2 separate regions of the Homo sapiens genome follow, and region 1 is linked to region 2. The links are contacts of gene promoters, found by promoter capture Hi-C in blood cells and fetal thymus (Javierre and others, 2016). All regions are on one chromosome and are shown on one strand. The core of a region is centred on a gene start or on the middle of the fragment in contact, and the rest is flanking DNA. Distances in the headings are between cores, read along the strand shown. Region 1 overlaps RAB11FIP5 (RAB11 family interacting protein 5). Region 2 holds the start of FBXO41 (F-box protein 41).

Evidence for each region. Contacts are between HindIII fragments. The CHiCAGO score rates a contact against its expected background, and 5 or more counts as called.
Region 1: a fragment that was not itself captured here is called in contact with the fragment with the promoter of FBXO41 in region 2 in 1 of 17 cell types (total CD8 T cells); the score reaches 5.8 in total CD8 T cells.

What each region holds. Positions count from the first base shown.
Region 1 is chr2:73,081,461-73,086,728 of GRCh38, reverse strand. It overlaps RAB11FIP5 (RAB11 family interacting protein 5), which reads left to right. Exons shown (of 6, transcript NM_001371272.1): 4 at 5,066-5,268. Among named protein-coding and RNA genes, the nearest start is that of SFXN5, 12 kb to the right of the region's middle. RefSeq lists enhancers at 786-835, 2,054-2,348. The HindIII fragment of the contact is 2,580 bases long and covers 1,153-3,732 here.
Region 2 is chr2:73,281,519-73,286,390 of GRCh38, reverse strand. It overlaps FBXO41 (F-box protein 41), which reads left to right and starts at 1,913. Exons shown (of 13, transcript NM_001371389.2): 1 at 1,913-2,231. LOC124907840 (a long non-coding RNA gene) reads right to left here and starts at 1,857. Exons shown (of 2, transcript XR_007087013.1): 1 at 1,809-1,857; 2 at 272-483. RefSeq lists silencers at 887-936, 947-1,126, 1,857-2,266, 2,287-2,376. The HindIII fragment of the contact is 9,972 bases long and covers 1-4,872 here.

The DNA.
Region 1 (5,268 bases), core at 1,193-3,692, 200 kb after region 2:
GAAGGGGACAGGCCTTTCCCAGATGCCAGGCTGAGCCTGGTGTCCCTGTGACAGCCAGCCAGAGGTATTTGGAGGTGGTAGGGTAGAGGGAGGTAGCAGGAGATCTGGACAGGGCATTTGCTGGGAGGAGCTGAGGGCCTGGATTGAAAGGGGCACAGAGCACAGGCTCAGTGTGGTTGTGCGTACGGTGTCTCTGGGCCTTTTCTGGGGCAAGGTGAATGCTGGGGCCATTTGTAGGTGAGTCCTGCCCAGGCTTTGGGCTTGGACTCCCACAGGCTGTGAGTCTGTGGGGTTGTCACTGGCCTGGGGCACTTACAGTCTCCATCCTCTTTCTCCTGCTTCCCCATATCTCCTAATGGCCTCTTGGAATCTGGAGGATTTGGGTCACTGATGGCCATAAGGAAGCTGAGGTTTCTGTCCTGCTGTCACTTGAATTCTGAGCCTTGTCTTTAGCAGGATGGAGGGCACTCAGCATCCCTCCCAAGATGGGGCCTATTTGCAGGTGGCGGCTGCAGGGCCAGGCTCTGTGGCCGTGCATGCAGATGGGGTGGGAGGGGCTGTGCTTTGGGTAAGATGGCCTGGCCTGGACAGATGTGACACCTGGCCTTTGAGCTCAATCAGCAGCATCCTGGCCTTGTGTGCCTTGCAGGGAGGGGAAGGCTGGCCTGGAAGAAAGGACTGTTGGCGCTTCCCCAGAGGGCTTGCTTAGGGCCTCTGAGGAGAGAAGGAGAGGTGGGCTGCCTCATGGCAGGAAGCTGTGGGTTAGACCCAGAACTGGAGTGACTGAATGTAGCTGCAGGATCTCCAGCTGGGGCCTGGGGAGCCTGTCCCCAGGTCCAGAGAATGGGGGCCTCTGCCTTGGGGCTACCATTGCAGATTGTGGGATGTTCCTCACTAGGAAGAACAGCGGCGCCCTCTAGTGCTCCCATGTGGCACTGATGCCCCACAGAGAGGCCCGGGGCTGAACGTGTTGAGTATGGTATCCAGAGAAAGGCTGCTGCCGTGGGGAAGGAACAAATGAGGCTATACAGGGCTGAGAAGAGGGTCCTGCTGTTCCTCTGATGTGGCCTTTGTCTGCTGGGGGCCATGGCAGTCACACTGGGCCCCTACCAGTGTGTGCTGGAGCAGGGAGTAGGTAGTTGAGACCAAGCTTGTCTTGGCCACAGGACTTAGCCTCATTCCCCTGCCCTGTTATGAGCCATTCACACTGAGCTGCAGCACAGGCTACTTCACGTGTGTTTGAGGACAGGCAAGACCACGCATTTTAAACCCGCCAGGGCCAAAGTGGATTGTCTTTGTGTCTATCCCGGGTCATCCTTGTGTTCCCTTGTTCCCCGCCCCCCACACTAACCATAGGACTCTATGCACAGAAGGGGATCAAATGTTGATTACAAAAACTTTTAAAGTTGGGAATAAGTGTGGTACAACATAGAGATGAGTGTATCATGATGGTGGCCTCTGGCAGTCTCTGCAGTGCCTCCCTGCACCAGGTGTGGTAGGCAACAAGGTCCCTCCCTGTGGGCCTGGAATGTGCTGTGGCAGCGGAAGGAGCTTGGCTGCATTCTTGGTGGTGTAAATGAGTAACTATAATGTGCTCCCAGTGGCTTGGAGTTAGTGCAGCCTCACGTCCTGCTCTCCTCATGTGCTCCTCACAACCATGCTCTTGTCATGGTTACTGTATTAACAGTGTTCTGGTTTGGAAGATAAATGATACGTTCTCCCTACTTACAGCTTACAAGGCCCCTGTCACCTCATTGTGCCCAGGTGATGGGAGAGGATGTACCCGTCTCTTGGACATGTTTCCTGCACGTTGGGCCCATCTCAGGAGGGTCAGGAGGTCGTGCCTCAGGATGGAAGGCTGAAGGGCAGTGTTGCTAGAGATGAACGTGCCTCCAAGGCTGGCTTCGGCCTTTGGGGGATTGCCTGGTAGAGAGCTTGTGCAGATTCACTTGCCATCTCTGGGACCAGTGTGTGGAAATAACAAGGACACAGAGCTCTTTTCAGCCCAAGGAAGAGTTGTCTGCTAGTGACACCTGGCCTTCAGCTACAGAGGTAGCCCTGTGGTGTAGTGTTTAAGAAGAGGGGCTGTCAGGGTGAACAGGTGGTTCCTGTGTTGAGTGGCAGGTTCAACCAATTGTTCAGAGCTTCCTGCAGGCAGTAAAGTTTTATTCCCTCAGGTTGAAGGGGCAGAGACATCTGGACTTCTGACTTCCTTCCCAGCATTTGATCCTAAAAGAGAAGACAAATCAGCATATATTGCTGCCCCCACCGCTTGGGGGTGGGGAGAGTGTGCCAGGCCGGCACAGTAGGTTCTAGGATGCAGAGGTGTTTATTTGTTCTCAGAGCATGACCTGCAAAGACAAGCATACGTGGGAATATGTTCCTGACCTGGGCCAGGTGGAGTGGGAGGGAGATGTTTTGAAGTGAGAACCTTCAGAATGTGCACTTGGTGTGGAGCAAGGAAGAGGAAGGCATGAAGGAGGGATGTGTTACCAGATAGGAGGATGGACAGATGCCCTCAGAAGTACTGCTGGCTCTGTAAAGCCTGCCAGGCCTGGTGCTTGGAGTCCCTTCCTCCAGGGAGAGCCCTTTGCTGATTCTATACAAACAGGTTTGTGTGTACCTCTGGGGAGCTGGCCGGGAGAGGGAGGTTGCCGAGCCTAACCTGAGGCTCCCAGTCTACTCCCCTGCCGCTCTTGTCCCTGCAGTTCTGACTGCCAGCCAGGTTGCTGAAAGACTGCAAGGGTGAGTGCAGGCCAGGTTAGGGCTGAGGGGGCAGAGTTAAGCGTAGTGCTTTTAATGTTGATGGGACTCTCTTCCTTCAGACCACTGTGGCCTATTGTCATAAAGGGGGCTGGGGAGAGAAGCAGCTCAGAGTGCTCTAGCCCTGTTCCTGGGGGCCCGGGTCCTGTAGACAGGGTTGGGCTGGGTGTGGTATGGATGCACTAATGGCAAGTGGGCTGAGGTCAGGCTCTTGACCTGGTGGTGGTGTATGTTGCTTCTCACTCCCCTTGGTCCCCACAGCAGGCATGTGTGCCTTGGCCTGGGGCTTGTCTGGAATGAAGGGAGAAAGGGCATCTGCTGGGGTTGAGGCTCTGGGCCCACGATTCTTCCTCTTTTGGTATCTTCACCATGTCCATAGAAGCAGGGTAGTAGTGGAAGCCCAGGTGGGGTGGGAACAGGTGGGAATTTTTACCTCCCTCTCCCTCCATCTTTAGGTGGAGGGGATGAGACTGAGAATTTACCTTTGGATGGGGAGTTATTGTAAGGGGAAAAATAGGGTCAGGAGACTCTCGGGAAACTGATTCTTACGAGAAATCCCTGGGTTTGGGACCTGTGAGGCTGACCTCCCTTCTCCCAGAACCATCTTTGGAGCTACCTGTGCCTCTGTTTAGTTGGACTCCTTCCTGTGGTCCGCCCCTGGTGGTAGCTGCCGAGCTGACCTGCCTCAGTCCACCTCTGTGTGGGTCTGCCCTCTTTGGGCCCTGGGTTCCTGGGAGAATCCGGGCAAGCTCCAGACAGCTCATGCTCTTTCCACAGGTGCCCTTCCTACCCCAAGCCACACTCCTTATGGGCTGGCTGGCCAAAGCCCGGCTTCTGCCCCTTCAGGACTCACTGTCTACATTTCCTGTGCAAGAAGCTGGTTGGCTTGAAAAGTCGGATGTGTAGGGGTTTCCCCAGGATATTTCCACCTGGACAGGCAGGAGCCAAGGAACAGGGGTCCTGGAAGCTTAGAGCCAGGCCTGGGAGACCAGCCATGAGGAGGGAGACTGCTTAGAAGGCAGAGGGTGAGGCCACCGAGGTCTGCCTCTGACGGTGGCTCAGTGGCAAGGCAGCCATTTTTTCTGGCCTTCTGTCTGGGTCCTAGGGAAGTGAGAAGCTCTAGTTTGAGAGCACGCCCCTGCCCGCATCTCTGGAGTCGGCCTCACTCTGTGGATAAGCACCAGTGCAGGGGGCGTTTCCCCCAGAAAGGACCCTGTCCTGGACAGATGAAGGCCAGAACCTGTTCTCCAGTGTCCTAAGAGCACCTGCCCTGTCCCCGTCCCCAGAGTCCCTGAGAAGCCCCTGGTGACATCCAGAGTTGCTGCTGCTGTCACACTGCCAGCCTTGGCAGACAAAGGCTGGACCATCAGGGCACCTTTTGGTTGACGTTCTCCACAGGTGGCTTATATTCCTTAGCCAGTTAGGCTGCCCCTCAAAGAAACAAGACACCTTGTCACACCCAATGACAGCCCGTCATTACTTCTGCTTCTGCAAGGGATCAATAGAACCCAGGCTGTTTCAAGTGTCAGAATTCTAGGTGCCCTGCTAGGTCCTATAAGTTCTGGTTTTGTCCAGCCAGATACCTAGGCCTGGCCTTTCTCTGGTCTCTTTATCCCCCCATGCCAGCTGGTGTTTTCTTTGCTTTTAGTCCTAAAAGGGGCCAGGCTTAGTGGCTCATGTTTGTAATCCCAGAACTTTGGGAGGCCAGGTGGGCAGATCACGAGGCCAGGAGTTCGAGACCAGCCTGGCCAACATGGTGAAACCTCATCTCTCCTAAAAATACAAAAATTATTCAGGTGTGGTGGCACACACTGAGGCACAAGAATGGCTTGAGCCTGGGAGGCAGAAGTTGCAGTGAGCCAAGATCGCGCCACTGCACTCCAGCCTGGGCAAGAGACTCTATCTCAAAAAAAAAAAAAAAAAAAGGGATGTAAGGCGCTTTCAGATTAGTTTTCCCAGATGTAAATTCCTTGTTGAGTAGAACCTTAGAAGCTTCAGCATGGGATAGAGGAAAGAACACTTGGTTAGGTTTGGATCGGATCCTGCCTATCAGATGAGATGATTTCTCTCTGGGGTTGGAGTGAGCATTAAAATAGCTTTGCCTGGCATATTTCTCCTTGGGAGGCACTTGATAATGTTACATGTTGGGGTCTTCCCTCTGTACCCTGGCCCAAGTAGGTAAATCCAGCCTATGTGTGTGTTATGGCCCCTGGTCCCGAAGCAGGGGGTGGGGCGTGGGACTCAGGGGCCTTTCCAGTCTTGGCATTAACCAGGAGGCTCACGGTTTTGTCTCCCTCCACAGCCTGGACGTGTCTCCTCAGGTAGAATCTGACCCAGCTGCTCTTCCTCACCACCTCCCCTGCTCCCCCTGGGCTCCGGCCCCTCCCACTCCTGCTCCCACTGCTGCTCCCATGCTAAGCACTAACCTTTTTGCAGCCGCCTCCCCCGCTGCTGCCACTGCTGCCGCTGCCGCCACCACCGCCGCCCCTGAAGCCACCCCACCTG
Region 2 (4,872 bases), core at 664-3,163:
ATACATTCACAGACATATGCGCACACACATGCACACAGGTGCAAATACACATGCATGAACTCTTACCCACACATACATGCATGTGCTCACAGATACACACATGCACCTATGTACACTTGCATATGCACAAGTGTACACCTGCATACACACACACATCCACACACTCATGCACACATGCACAAAAGCACCCACATACATAGCCATGCATGTCCCAAATTGTTTTGACACATTCACAGGATGCACAGAGTGAGGAGAAACATCACAACAAAGGTGAAACCAAGACAATATATGGACATTTTTGGCCATCTGCAAGAGCAGATGGATTTGGGGAATCTGCATTTTGACATGTGAAGGTCCAGTGGACTGTATTATAGCAGAGAAGGCAGGAGGGCACTGTGGTTGAGCATAGACTTTGGAGTTTGATGACTTGAGTTCAAGTCTTGACTATGCCATGTGTTGAGCTCTGAATTTTAGCGTCTTCATCTGCAAAGTAGGGATAATAATAATATTAGGAAGAGCAAATGATATGCATAAAAATTATTAGCATGATGCTTGGTGCCTGGTTAATAGGAGCTGTTATCGTTTGGGTATTAGGAAAAGTGATTTCTCATTTGTCCAATCTCAGAAGACCTCCGCGAGGAGGAAAGAAATTCAGGAGCTACAGAGAGGAAGAGAAGATCGAGAGAGGGGGAATTCAACCTGATTGGCCACTGTACAGCCTCTGTCCTTATTAAGTTTGCCATTCCCCCAAAGCCACTGACAAGTTTACAAATTATCCTTCCTGATACTGAATGTCCCAATGCCTCTGCCTTCACAGGAATGGGATGGGGGTCAAAGAGAATTCCCATGAGCCCGAGTTACTGGAATCCTGGGACTAAGTTGGGTTTCTGCTCTCCTGCAACCAGATTGCCCCTCAAGGCACATGTGCACAGCCCTACCCAAGCACCACCCTCAGGCTGAAATAACACTTCCCCCTCAAGGCACATGTGCACAGCCCTACCCAAGCACCACCCTCAGGCTGAAATAACACTTCCCCCTTTTCTCATCCAAGCCTCAGCTCTGCTCTGGCCTTGGTTGCCTCCAAACCCTGTGTGGTTTCTCAGCCCCACTGCAGCCCTGTGGACTTCCTCCAAGCGTACGACAGCCAGATTGTTTCTGCCTCACCAGCTTGGTAGGCCTTAGGCCAAAGGTGGGGCCGTCTAGGTGCTCCAGTCCCAAGAAGCCTGGCTGCTATCTTAGCCAAATGGTGGGAGTGGGTAGGAGGGAACCAGGGACCTGGAGGCCTTTTCCTCCTCCTCTAGGTCCGGGATGGGATTTGTGATGGGTACACGTGTTCCTAGGCGGCTCTTTAAGAGCAGAATTGGGTCTCCGGATGGGGTCCAGCAGCAGTTCCGCGGGTTCCCTAGGAATGCCCAGAGGGGATCATCCCAGGCGGTCTCCGCGGAGACCAAGCATCTGACCCGAGGTCGCCGAGTGCACGACCCAGGCGCGCTGCCCATGAGGCCGCTTAGGGACCGTGGCGCATGTCTCAGGAGTAGCGCCTGCGCCCGCCCCCTTCCGGATTCACAGAACCACCCACCCCCGGATTTGCCCCCGCGTGGAAGCAGGCCCAAGCCAGAGTGCTAGGGTTAGGGCGGAGAGGCCCTGATTCAAGGTGGGCAACAGAAGCCACAGCTGGAGGTGCCCAGGGCGGGGAATGCACTGGGCGGTGCCGGGAGCCGGGAAGACTGGGACCCGGGAGGAGCGCGGCGCGAGCCATCCCTACACCCCTAGGGCGGCGCCGAAGACCCCTCCCCCATCGAAACCACCTTGAGCGGAAAACGTGGGGTCCCGGCGCAGCCGCTGCTGGGCGCATCTGCCGCTCCCCAGCTCACTGGAGAGCCCGCCCCGGAGGAGGGGCCGGCTCCGCCCCACCTCGGTGCTGCCTCCCTCCCCCTTCCCTTGCTTTCCTCGGCCCGCGCGCCCCCTCCTCCCCCTCCTCCTCCTCCTCCTCCTCCATCCTTCCTCCCGCCGGGTTCGTGCGCCCCTCCCGCTGCGACTGGCTGGGAGGTTCGGCCGCCCCCGCCCCGAGAGGGAGGCGGGGGCGCTAGCCGCGGCGGCCACCCAAGGCTGCGGAGGGGAACGAGATCCGAGGCCCCAAGGCGGCCCTGCGTCTGGACCGGGCACGCGGGGGCTCTTCTGCGTCCCCAGCCCTGGGCCGCTGGGCCTGGCCTCGCCGCGGGGTGGAGGAGGTAAGGGCGAGTCGCGGGCACGCTGCGGGACTGCTCCCGGAGAGGGAAGGAGGGAGGACCCCAGCCACTGTCCCTTCTTCCCCTTCCGGCTCCTTCACAGCCCTCCGGAGGCCCGCGAGGCCGCCCAACGGGGAGGGATTCTGGGCAGGCCAGACCAGAGGCAGGGAAGGGGTTAATTTAAGAAATTAAAATCAGAACGTTTCGAGACCAGGCTTCCCCTCCCCCCTCTCGCCTGTCGCTCCCTGAGCCAGGTTTTGGGGCGGGGGCGGGCTCCAGAACCCCACTGGGACTCTGGACCTTGGAGAACAGGGGCCAGAGGGAGGGGGGAGGGGAAGCGCCCTGAAACCCCAACCCTCCCTACCGGTTTCTGAGGGGCTGGGGGAGGGGCCTGGTGTTGAGGCCTGGCTGGGCACCTGTGCGGGTGTCTGTGCGTGCCGGTGTGCACGTGTGATAGTCTGGAGGTGTGCATGTGTGTGCACGCATGTGTCTGTCTCTTCACATCCAGTGCCTGTACTGGTGACAGTGCTCACAGTGTCTCTGAATGTGTGCGCCCCTCCGCATTGCCTTGCATGTGAGTGTGTGTGACACGGGGCCTGTGTGCACTGCCCACAGTCGGCCAGCGAGTACTGTGTGGGCCTGCTCTCTCCTTAGGTCTCTCTGCAGCGAGGGGCCCAGATGGTTTTCTGGGTATGGGATCCAGGTTCTGGAGCCTGTGTGTGACCTTGGGAGGTGTATGCCTGTTTGCAGGAGCAGGAGAGTAAGGCAGGGCTTAGAACAGAAAAAGCAGTGCCAGGGCTGCTAGAAGGCAGAGGACTGGATGCATTGACCCCTGAGGGTCTTCGCCAGGCTGGAGTGACTACTCTGGGAGGTATACATGTTGGGGCCACAGCCACAGGTGTGGAGAGCCAGAGCCCCAGCCTTCTTGGGGGACTCAGAGGGATTTATAGAGGCAGTGGACATTCCTTTACTCCCCACCCACAGGGGCCTAATAGGGGTATAATGGGGACAACTCCGGCTGCCTCCCCCATCCTTAGGATACCTCCACCTGCTGGCAGATGCCTCCTAAAAGTACCGAGCTTAGAGCTTCATTTCTTTGGCTTGTAAATCCATCTGTTAACATCCAAACCTTCCTTCCCCATTTCTGTAATTTCCACCTTCTCAGCCCCTTTTCTGCATGTGGATTTTATATGGAAAGAGAGGGAAAGAACTGTTGGGCCCTGAAGGCCAAGTGGGATGAAGAGAGAAGATGCCATGAATGTGATGGGGAGGTGGGGACCGGGAGGCAGGGCCACCAGAAAACAAACTCTATTACCTTCTCAATTTTGCCTGATCTGAATTTAACAGAGAAAGAGACAGACACAGAGAGGGAGTTTGGTGATATCCACACAGTTGTTTCTAGATTTAGGAATGCCTAAATGGCTTCATTTTTGTTTTTGTTTTGGAATATTTGTTTGTTTTAGACAGGCTCTTGCTCTGTCACGAAGGCTGGAGTGCGGTGGAGTGATCATGGCTCACTGCAGCCTTGACCTTCCGGGCCCAAGCAATCCTCCCACCTCAGTCTCCCAAGCAGCTGGGACCACAGGCATATGCCACCACACCTGCCTAATTTTTTTTCTTTTGGTAGAGACAGGGTCTCCCTATGTTGCCCAGTCTGGTCTCAAACTCCTGGGCTCAAGTCCTCCTGCCTCAGCCTCCTGAAGTGCTGGGATTATAGCCACTGTGCACAGCCTTGTTTTGGAATATTTGTAATGGGAAGGGGGTGATGGTTGTTGAAAAGTAATTACCATCCTGCCTTTGAATTCCCTAGATCTCTTTACCTCTCTAGTGGCCTATCATACCCTTTATCCATTCATTTAACAAATATTAGGCCAGGCACGGTGGCTCACGCCTGTAATCCCAGCACTTTGGGATGCTGAGGTGGGTGGATCACCTGAGGTCAGGAGTTCGAGACCAGCCTGACCAACATGGAGAAACCCCATCTCTACTAAAAATACAAAAACTAGCCAGTGTGGTGGTGCATGCCTGTAATCCCAGCTACTTAGGAGACTGAGGCAGGAGAATTGCTTGAACTTGTGAGGCAGAGGTTGGGGTGAGCCAAGATCATGCCACTGCACTCCAGCCTGGACAACAAGAGCAAAACTCCATCTCAAAAAAAAGAAATTTATTGCATGCTACCATGGGCCAACCTGTGTGTATTACACTGTTAGTATGATGTTCCACTCTCAATCAGAAGGAACACAATGTGGAGACCAAGGGCATGAGCTTTGGTAGTCAGGTAGTACTGGGTTCAAATCCTAGTTTATCATGGTTTTAGTTATTCATTAGGTTGTAACAGACCACCCCAGAATTTCTGGATTTAAAACAACAGCGATTTATTATTCCTTCATGGTCTGTGGGTCAGCTGTGACTGTGTCTGTGGCTGTGGGCCCTGCTGGTCTCACGTAGACTCTCACACAGCTGCATTATGTTGAGAGCCTAACAGGAGAGGGACATCAAAATAGCCTCTCATTCTTCAGGGTCTTAATACACATGGCATCTAATCATTTGCTAGTCTAGCCCAAGTTTCTTATGTGGCAGCTGGATCCCAAGAGGGAGTATTCCAAGAGGACAAGTCCTAAGTTACTGCTGATGGAGCCTCTGC